Linked DNA regions of Homo sapiens: region 1 is linked to region 2. Evidence: promoter capture Hi-C in 16 types of primary human blood cells and fetal thymus (Javierre and others, 2016). All regions are on one chromosome and are shown on one strand. The core of a region is centred on a gene start or on the middle of the fragment in contact, and the rest is flanking DNA. Distances in the headings are between cores, read along the strand shown.

Region 1 (4,763 bases), core at 1,024-3,523, 100 kb after region 2:
TTGTTTTGTTTTGTTTTGAGACAGAGTCTTGCTCTGTCGCATAGGCTGGAGTGCAGTGGCACCACCATGGCTCAATGCAGCCTCAACCTCCTGGACTCAAGCAGTCCTCCCGCCTCAGCCTTCCCAGAAACTGGGACCACAAGTACGAAGCACTGTGCCCAGCACTGGGGGTCTCACCATGTTGCCCAGGCTGATCTTGAACTCCTGGACTCAAGTGATCTTCCTGCCTTGACATCCCAAACTGTTGGGATTATAGGCATGAGCCACAGTACCCGGACTGCCAGTTGATTCTTAAAGATGTTTTTGTTGATTTTTGCTGAACCCTTGTGTCTGTATCTAAAGTTGCAATTCAACCATGCTTTTACAAATTTTTATTTATGCTAGCCACAACATATCAACTACAAACATGGCACTTTAGAGTTTAATCTGCATTATTAACATTTTCTGTATCACTTTCTTAAGTCTGCATAAATCAACAAAATAATAAATTAAGCCTTGAAATTAGTAGCATTTCATAGTTTCTGTGGTGTAAATACTCCATTGCGGCCATTGTCAAGTTAGCCACGTGACATTGCTGGAGGGATGCAGAACAGCACACCGTGGTGTGGCATTTCCACAACACAGACATGGTTGATGTAAGTAACCTTAAGAGCACAGATAATAGACAAATATAGCGTGGAGGCGATGAATTTCAGATACTTATTACCTTTGTAATATATAATATATAATATAAATAAGTTGTATTATATATTATTTAACAAATATATTGTATATATATTTTGTGTATCTCTATATTATATATAGTAACATATAATATATAATATAACTTATTTAAATTTATATAATTTAATTTTTAATAATGTGTTTAACAACCAGCTCACAGAATTCCTGAAAATGTAAGCATTGGTTCCTTAGGGCCAGTATGAGCCAACTCTCACACACCATTCAACCTACCAAAATGAAAAGATAGCCCATACTAAGTGAGGCCATATGACCTGACAATTCAATTCCTAGATATATATCCAACAGAAACATACAAATATATTCACCAACAATGTGTACAAGAATGTTCATAGCAGCACTATTTGTAATAGCCTTGAAATGCAAGCAACCCAGAAGTTCATCAATAATAGAATAAAGTATGATCTACCCAAAACAAGAATGAACAAACTATTGTTACATGTACCAATATGGATGAGTATCATAAACATAATGTTGAGTGAAATAAGTCAGACCCAAAGATATACATGATGTATGTTTGTATTTATATAAAGTTCAAAATAGGCAAAAGTAATCTATAGTATGAAAGTCAGGATAGCAGCTCCTCTTGGGGTCAGAGTCCAAGGGGGCATCCAGTGTCCTGGTTATGTTCATTTTCTTATTTTGGTAGTTACAAGTATTTCTAGTTTGTGAAAATTTATTAAACTGTAAAATTTAAGATCCGTGCACTTTTCTGTGGTTGTTACATTTCAATGGTTCACTTTAAAACACTTAAAGCACCACTGCTTAAATTTAAAAAAATAAAACTGACCTAGGCCGGGCACGGTGGCTCATGCCTGTAATCCCAGCACTTTGGGAGGCCGAGGCAGGCGAATCACGAGGTCAGGAGATCGAGACCATCCTGGCTAACACGGTGAAACCCCGTCTCTACTAAAAATACAAAAAATTAGCCGGGCATGATGGTGGGTGCCTGTAGTCCCAGGTACTCGGGAGGCTGAGGCAGGAGAATGGCGTGAACCCGGGAGGCGGAGCTTGCAGTGAGGCAAGATCGCGTCGCTGCACTCCAGCCTGGGTGACAGAGCGAGACTCCATCTCAACAAATAATAATAAAATAAAATAAAACTGACCTAAATGACAATTCCAAGCTTTTAGCTTGGAATGTTACTTTTTAAGCAAGTAAGCTAATTTAATTACATCTGAAGGAGTAGAAGAGTAAAAACCAGTAGGTTAAGTAACGGGGTACCATTATTTCACCGTGAGACCCAGTACAAAAAATTTTATTCCTTTCGTGACTCAGTCTTTTCTAACACAAAACAGCAGTATTGGTGGGCTATACAAACCAGAAAATGGTTGAAAGAAAAATCTTACCAAATATCTTCATTAATCTTAAAAATTTCAGTACAGAATTAATGACAGATAAAAAGAAAATAAAAGAAAAAATGAATCCAAAAATAGCTAAACTTTTCATGCATCTAAATTACATCAGAAAATAATGTATCTAATACAATTCTACATTTTCCACATACGAAATTAATGATAAGAATGAAATAGCTTTTTAAAAAGTTTTCAAAGACATAATGTCTTCATTTTTTTTTCTTTCGGCCTGAAGCCACAGAGAGAAAACAGCTGCAAGCTAATAAAATGGCGAGGAAAGGAGTGCTTCTTAGTAAAAGTTATGGTTAAATGGTTAAACGAACGGTAGAAATGGAGTGAGGAACCCATCACCCATAAACTCAGTAGAAGGGAAGGAGTAGGTTTCTGCTGAGTAGGAGTGAATTTAACATTATATATTGCAGATAAAAATATTTTCCCGAGATTATTAATTCCCCTAGATCTAGACCTAGGTTTTCAAGTTAGTAACAATTTACTTCTGAAGGATTTCTCCCTTCATATAGAGCACACCAAAATATTACATACAAAAGGACATTAGCCACTGTTACCACACAAAGATCTCCTCTTCTAGAAGCTTTCTGCTACAGCATATTTCACATTTCATATATTTTATGCCTGTTTTGCCCTAGACATTCCATCCTATGTGAGTTACTTGGCAGAATTTAGTTTAAGGATATGTGGAAATGTCTAAAACAGTAATCATGTTAGATGGATGTGTAAGAAAGAAAGCCTTTCTTCAGGGTTAGCCTTACATTTTGGTCAAGGATGAGAACCATTGCTGGACATCAGCTTGTCAATAAATCTACCTATCTCCTTTGAAAGGAGTCTTTAATCAGCAATCAAAGGTCATAGAATTATGGTAGATATTTGACTCAGCACATATAACATTTTGACAAATATAAAAAATTGGTTCAAATTGACTGAACAGCCAAAGACATTACTTGGGTAAATCAAACAAGGTTTACATATCTGAATGTGCAGCACGAAGTCAGAGCAGTTAGGATATGTAGCAAAGAGATCAGCTCTTAATCTTTATTAACAGACAGAAGTGCTTACACTCGAGAATCCCTCCGATGGGCCACATCAGCAGATACACAACTGAGGATAGTAAGTTTGAGCAAGTGATGCTCACATTAGACCTTTTGAAGGTCAACTGCCCCTTCAGACCTAGTCTTACATGCATGATGCTAAAGACTGCGCCCTAGCCAGGTGTATCTAATTCATTGCAGAGTATACATGATATACAGTACACGTGCAGGAATAGGTAACAGAGTACTTGTATGCCTAAATAAACTTCTTAGTCTTTACTCTCAACCTCTCCAAGCTAAAGCAGCTTGGGCCAGATATGACCCTCAATACCATGCTGTGAAGTTAAAGCAAGCATCTATTCCCCAGATGGCCCTGGGAGTCATGGTAATGCACCCTTGGACCAGCTCTAAGACCTAATCTGCAGGCCTAGATTTACTCATTTTGGCAACAAATATGTATGAGAATCATGAGTTAGAAGAAGAACAAAAAAAGGTTGTGCAAAATATCTTCCCCAGTCATTGACTGTCCAATTACATAGTCATTTAGCATAAAAAGACAATTCTATATCATTATTTTGTATGCTGTTTTGTTGTGTTTGTTTTTACCTTCTAAATCTATGCATTGAGATATGAAGAGATTTATATCTAGCCATCTTTCATCACTTTAAGGCATCCTTTCATCAGGTGAAATGCTTATTTGCTTTGGACATGTCCTGCCTTTCAACCCAGTTTTGAATGATTGGATGCCAAGTTGTAGTGTCTCAGTGGAATCTCAACACTTCGGGCCTAACAATGGATTAATTCATAATATCTGAGCCTGCATAATAATGCTAGAAGTTACACATTTCTGCCTAAAGCTTAGCCTACCTTAACTACTCTTTCATGATGAAACTCTTCTGCATCCGGGGTCACTCTGCTGAGGCAGAGAGCTGATTTGGATCAGGACACAGGCTCAAACCCTGGCTTTACCACCTGCTAGCTTTGTAATCTCTTTTAAGTCCCATAGACTTTGAGCTTTGCTTCTTTCATCAGTAAAATGGGATTGAATCTACCTCATAAGTTTATAGGACAGTTGAGATGTTTGTAAACTTGTAAAGAACAGTGCCTGACACATAGTCTATGTTCAATAACTATCAATTGAGTCTAAATCTGACAGATGTAGTCTGTTGGAATTTACCATGTGTAAACATTTATTGTCTATAATCTTTACTGCCAATGATGGCTTTCATTTAAAAAATCTCTAAATTTCAGCAATAAATTAATTGCTAGAATTTTAGAGGATGGGTTTGTTGTATCCTGAGTAGAAATAAAAATTCTTGCAGCTAAAAGCATTTCCTTGTATGTGAAATTAAGGCTTGTGACTACATGCCAAGCAATTCACAAATAAGTATCTTATTCTGGGCTGCCACTTACCCTCTTGGAAGCTTTCTGAGAAAATTAATGAGTTTACCCCAAAATTTGTGGAATTCAAGTAAATTTTCACTGGGCTGTTTGATTGCTCACTCTGTTGGGTGGATTATAGTTTATTGGAGGGGGGCCATAGTTGACAGTGCAGCTGATGTACCAAGAAATAGGGAAAGAAAATCACCCCAAATAGGTATTAAGATTTTAATTGGTTTCACA
Region 2 (4,665 bases), core at 497-2,996:
TTGTTTTTGGAGCCATTTATTACATATCAACACTTTTTTCATTTTTGGAAAAGCCTTGATCCTCTCTTCTCGCTTTCAAATCACCTCATGCTCTAATCTGAAATTATACTTGGACACTGTTTTTTTGTTTTTTGTTTGTTTTGGAGATGGAGTCTCACTCTGTTGCCCAGGCTGGAGTGCAATGGCACAATCTCGGCTCACTGCAACCTCTGCCTCCCGGGTTCGAGCAATTCTCCTGCCTCAGCCCCCCGAGGAACTGGGATTTCAGGTGTGTGCCACCACACCCAGCTAATTTTGTATATTTAGTAGAGACGGGGTTTCACCACGTTGGCCAAGCCGATCTCGAACTCCCGACCTGAGGTGATCTGCCCGCCTCGGCCTCCCAAAGTGCTGGAATTACTGGCGTGAGCCACCGCGCCCGGCCTGGATGCTGTTTTGACAACAGTGTTTATTTTCAGGTCTGGAGTTATCCAATGGCCATTCATTTGAACGAACATTTTAGTCTATGAGGGGAAAAAAGTCATAGTCTCTTATCTGTTAGTAATAAACGATTCTGTTCTCCAGACTGATACGCGTTCAGTAATTTGTGCTTTTATCAGGCATCGACACATGCATACTAAGAGCACAAATTCAGCGCCCTTCTTTTGCTTAAGCCTCCTGGGAGAAGCTAAAAAACTTGTTCCCAGTTGAACACTGCAAACCCAAATTTTCCTTACCTCTGAAAACAGAAAAAAAGACATGGTTTGGCAATTTCTTCCTTGATAGCTTTTCCCACAACGCAGCCACCTCCTAAACGCAGGCAATCTGTGCAAAACGCAGAGGAAACAAAATCATGAAAGCCCTGCAAATCTCCCTCCTAAATCCAACATTAAGAAGGCGAACGGATACTGAATTCAAAGACTACCCGTACTTGAGGATGGCATCATTCCTTACTGCTTGGAAAAGTGAGACTCCGTTGCACCTCTAGGAATCTTTTTAAAACGCCCTGTATGTTCCTTAACACTGCCTGTAGGAATCCTGTAGCCCTAGCCCCGTGGGATTTCCTTCTCTCTCCGCCCGTTCTCCACATTCCCCACTTAGTTTCACATTCCTTCCCAATCCCTCCGACATCCCTGCGCCGGGGCCCTTCCCTAGCGCTCCGGGAAAGCGTTCGCCGCAGGCCTGTTAGGGGCCCACCAATACCGTAACACCGTTCCCGTCCTCTTCCTCGGCACCGCTGCAAACGCCCCGGGTCGCTACCCGGATTTGACGGTGGCTGGAGCGGCACGGGCGACGCAAGGCAGGTATTGCACCCTGGGGCAAGGCAAGGTGGACAACCAGCGGATGCGGCGCGGCCGCGGCCTGGGCCTGGGCCCTCCGCGTCGCCCACTGCCCCACTGGGCCCCTTCTCCCGCGCTCACCGGAGGCGGGCAGCTGCTCGTCACCGAGACCCGAGACCCACGGTGCGGCGGCTCAACCTGGGCCACGCTCCGCTCTAGAGGAGTGGGCGGTGCCTCCCGGCCTAGCTGCCGGGGTCTAGGCGTTTCCGAGGACGGCGCGTTCCGGGAAAGGCGGGTCCGGTGGCTATACCCTCCACCCAGTGGCAGGACTCAACCGCCTCGGAGACCCTGCAGGGCCGCCCTTCTCACTCACCTCCTGTGCTCGGCGCGCACCCAGCTCGGAAGCGGGAAGGTGGCCGGCGTTCTCTCCCTGCGCACACACGCAGCCTCCCCGCATCCGCACGCACGGCCGGGCGCGCGCAGACCACGCGCCAGGGCCGCGGCCGGAAGCCCCTGGCTGCACGCGCGGGCCCAGGCGGCCCCCAGCCCTGTGAGCTCGCATGGCGCGCCCTCTGGGTCCTCGCGGTCACCTTGCATTCCGAGCACGGCCGTGTTATGTATGCCTTTAGTTGATGCTGGCCAAAATTAGACAACTTAGTGGCAGACGTCGAGCTAGAATTTTTGTTTGAGATCCTTTTTCCCTGGTCGTCTTTCCAAACTGCGTGAGTGCATGGCCTCGAGGCGGCCCTGGAGGGATTTTCTTGTTAAACTTCATACAGAACTAATTAGGAAAGAGGAAATCTTAGGAGGAGTTCTTTGCTGTCTCAGAAGAAATGCCAGTTCTTCTTCCGGAATCGATGGGGAATGGAATGGGGGTAAGAGAGACACGTCAGGTTTCAATGGCCTGTGTATGGATGGGAGTCCCAGGGAGTTGCTTTTGTACACCTGAGCATAGCTGACCTAAACTCCCAGATCCATCTCCTCAAACTCCTTTTACCAAGATGTGCAGTATTGATTGTACTGGTCCTTTCCTCAAAATCAAGTGGGTCTGGATCATGTATTTAACCACTACCAAGCTCAGCCATGAGCACCACCCCTGATTGTAACCCACACATTTGCATCAAGACTAAACGTGGCCCACCATTTCTTTTTGTTTACTGACTCTTTGGCCTGACTGCTTCTTCCTTATAGCCTTTTTCTGCAAAATTACTTAGGATAGTTTGAAGGTTCTCTGAAAATAATAGGGGTGAATATAGAGATCAAAATGGATATACAACAAAAGTAAGTTTAGATAGTAGCAGTGTAAGTCAAGGACTTAGTTGACACTGCATAAATAATCAGATCTAAATTATAATAATCAGATCTAAATTATGGTTGAGATTGTTTTCCTGGTTCCAGCCTTGGCAGGTAGCTGTGTCCTTTGCAGAGGGTAAAGTGATTGCTGCCCTGCTGCACGCCTTTATCACAGCCATTCTTCACCCTACCTGGGCTGACAGTTCACCTCACTAAGTCAAGGAGGTCCATTAATAACAAAACCAGACAGGTTTCACTGCAGATAGATTAATATGCTGAAAAAATAGACCTCTTATTTGGAAGAATGCTTTAGGGCATTAATACTATATTTTACAAATTCCGTTTCTTAAAATTTTAGAAAAGTTGTATTTCAATACTCATTTTTAAAATGTTTTGAATGTCCTTTGAGTAACCAGCAGGTATATGTGCTCATAGCTGCCAAAACTTCCCTGGAATGCAAAGCAGAGCCATGGACAACAGATTGGGGTAAGAAATTCTCCTAAATGAAGTAAGTGAGACAAAAAGGCCCAAAACCTTTATGAGATTATTTCCTTTGAAGCAGTCTCCTTTTTCTTTGTGTAGCATTTATCAGCTTGTGATTGAGTCATCTATTGCTGCAGATCGAACTCTCCCAAAATATAGTTGCTTGCAAAAATGTCAATTTAATATTTCTCATAATTCTGAAGGTTGGTTATGTGGTTCCTCTCTGGTTTTGATTTGGCTCACTCGTATAGATACATTCAGCTGTAGCAGGGGTTGGCCAAGTTTTCTGTAAAACAGGATCAGATAGTAAATATTTTAGACTTTGTCTCTGTCACATATTCTTTTTTATTTAATTTTTATAAACTATTAAAAACCCAAAGCTATTCATAGCTCAAGGGCCATACAGAAGCAGGCTATGGCCTACAGGCTGTAGTTTGCTGATCCCTGAACTGGAGAATCAGCTAAGCTGAAAGTCCAAGGTGGCCTCACTCATGTGTCTGCTGTTGGCTCCATGTGGCCTCTTATCCTGCAGTAGGCTATGTTTTTGGTCTGTGGGCAACATCCAGAAGAGAGCAGGCAGAAGCTGTAAAATTTCTTAAGGCCTAGACTTGGGAGTCACACAAGATCATATATGCCAAATTCTACAAATCAAAGCAAATTGTGAGGCCTCTCCAAATCCAAGGGGCAGGCAAATAGTCTCTGCCTCTTGATGGAAGGAGCTGCAGATAATGTGGCCAGAACTAGCTAAACTAAGTGGCAGGAACCTTATTCTTGAAAGTAAATCATCAAACTTCAAATTTATGATATCTGATGGCAGCTATTGTTCTTACTCACTTCTCTCCCCAAACTACCCAAACCTGTTTATAATTCTGTGAGCACTCACTTGCCTCAGAACTTGTTTACAGATGTCTCTGCCATGAGATTATCAGCAACCTGAGGGAAGAGACAGGCCCTACCGCACTGCCTTGCTGTAATATATCTTCAATAGATATATATGGAATTTAGCTGAATAGCCTTACTGAGGTTTAAAGTCAGGTTATTTGCTTACTTCACAAAAGCAAAATAAATTTAAGTATCCTGCACTATCTACAAATTCCAGAAGAAAAGCACACATCAAAGAGTTATATGTCACACTCACATACCATCTGACCAATAAGATGGAAACCTTCCTAGCAATTTTCCGAACATATAATCAAGAGTTAGGAAGCCATATGCCTAATGATAAGTTTGAACTAGCAGTCACCTTTAAGGCTATATTACATTTTAACCTTAAATTTGTCTGCAGATGAAAATTGAAATGTAACAACAGTTCTTTCGTAATATGTGCTATATATGTTTCAAGGCAGATGTGGTTCTGGGCAGGGTTTCTAATCTACAGGAAATGCTTCTACTAATTGTTCAGTTGAATTTTTCAATATGTGCCTTCTCCAAAATCTGACTGTGACTGTCTTCTTCCACTTGATGGAAAGCTTTGACAATTTATTATGCTTAGAAGCAGCTGGGGTGTATTTCTAATTGATGATTTGTTATATTTCTTACTTGACTATCCACATCTTTCATTCTCTTCAGCATTTTCCTCCAGCACTTCCTGTCTTACTGAATTTGATATATGACACTGCCTTTGTGCAAA

Evidence for each region. Contacts are between HindIII fragments. The CHiCAGO score rates a contact against its expected background, and 5 or more counts as called.
Region 1: a contact is called between a fragment that was not itself captured here and the fragment with the promoter of B3GALNT1 in region 2, in 1 of 17 cell types (endothelial precursors). The highest score is 5.3, in endothelial precursors.

The regions. Positions count from the first base shown.
Region 1 is chr3:161,203,849-161,208,611 of GRCh38, forward strand. No RefSeq gene overlaps it. Among named protein-coding and RNA genes, the nearest start is that of NMD3, 15 kb to the right of the region's middle. The HindIII fragment of the contact is 821 bases long and covers 1,864-2,684 here.
Region 2 is chr3:161,103,603-161,108,267 of GRCh38, forward strand. It overlaps B3GALNT1 (beta-1,3-N-acetylgalactosaminyltransferase 1 (Globoside blood group)), which reads right to left and starts at 1,747. Exons shown (of 5, transcript NM_003781.4): 1 at 1,633-1,747; 2 at 717-804. It overlaps LOC124909453 (a long non-coding RNA gene), which reads left to right and starts at 1,079. Exons shown (of 2, transcript XR_007096147.1): 1 at 1,079-1,283; 2 at 2,969-4,665. RefSeq lists silencers at 1,302-1,551, 1,562-1,651. The HindIII fragment of the contact is 4,654 bases long and covers 1-4,502 here.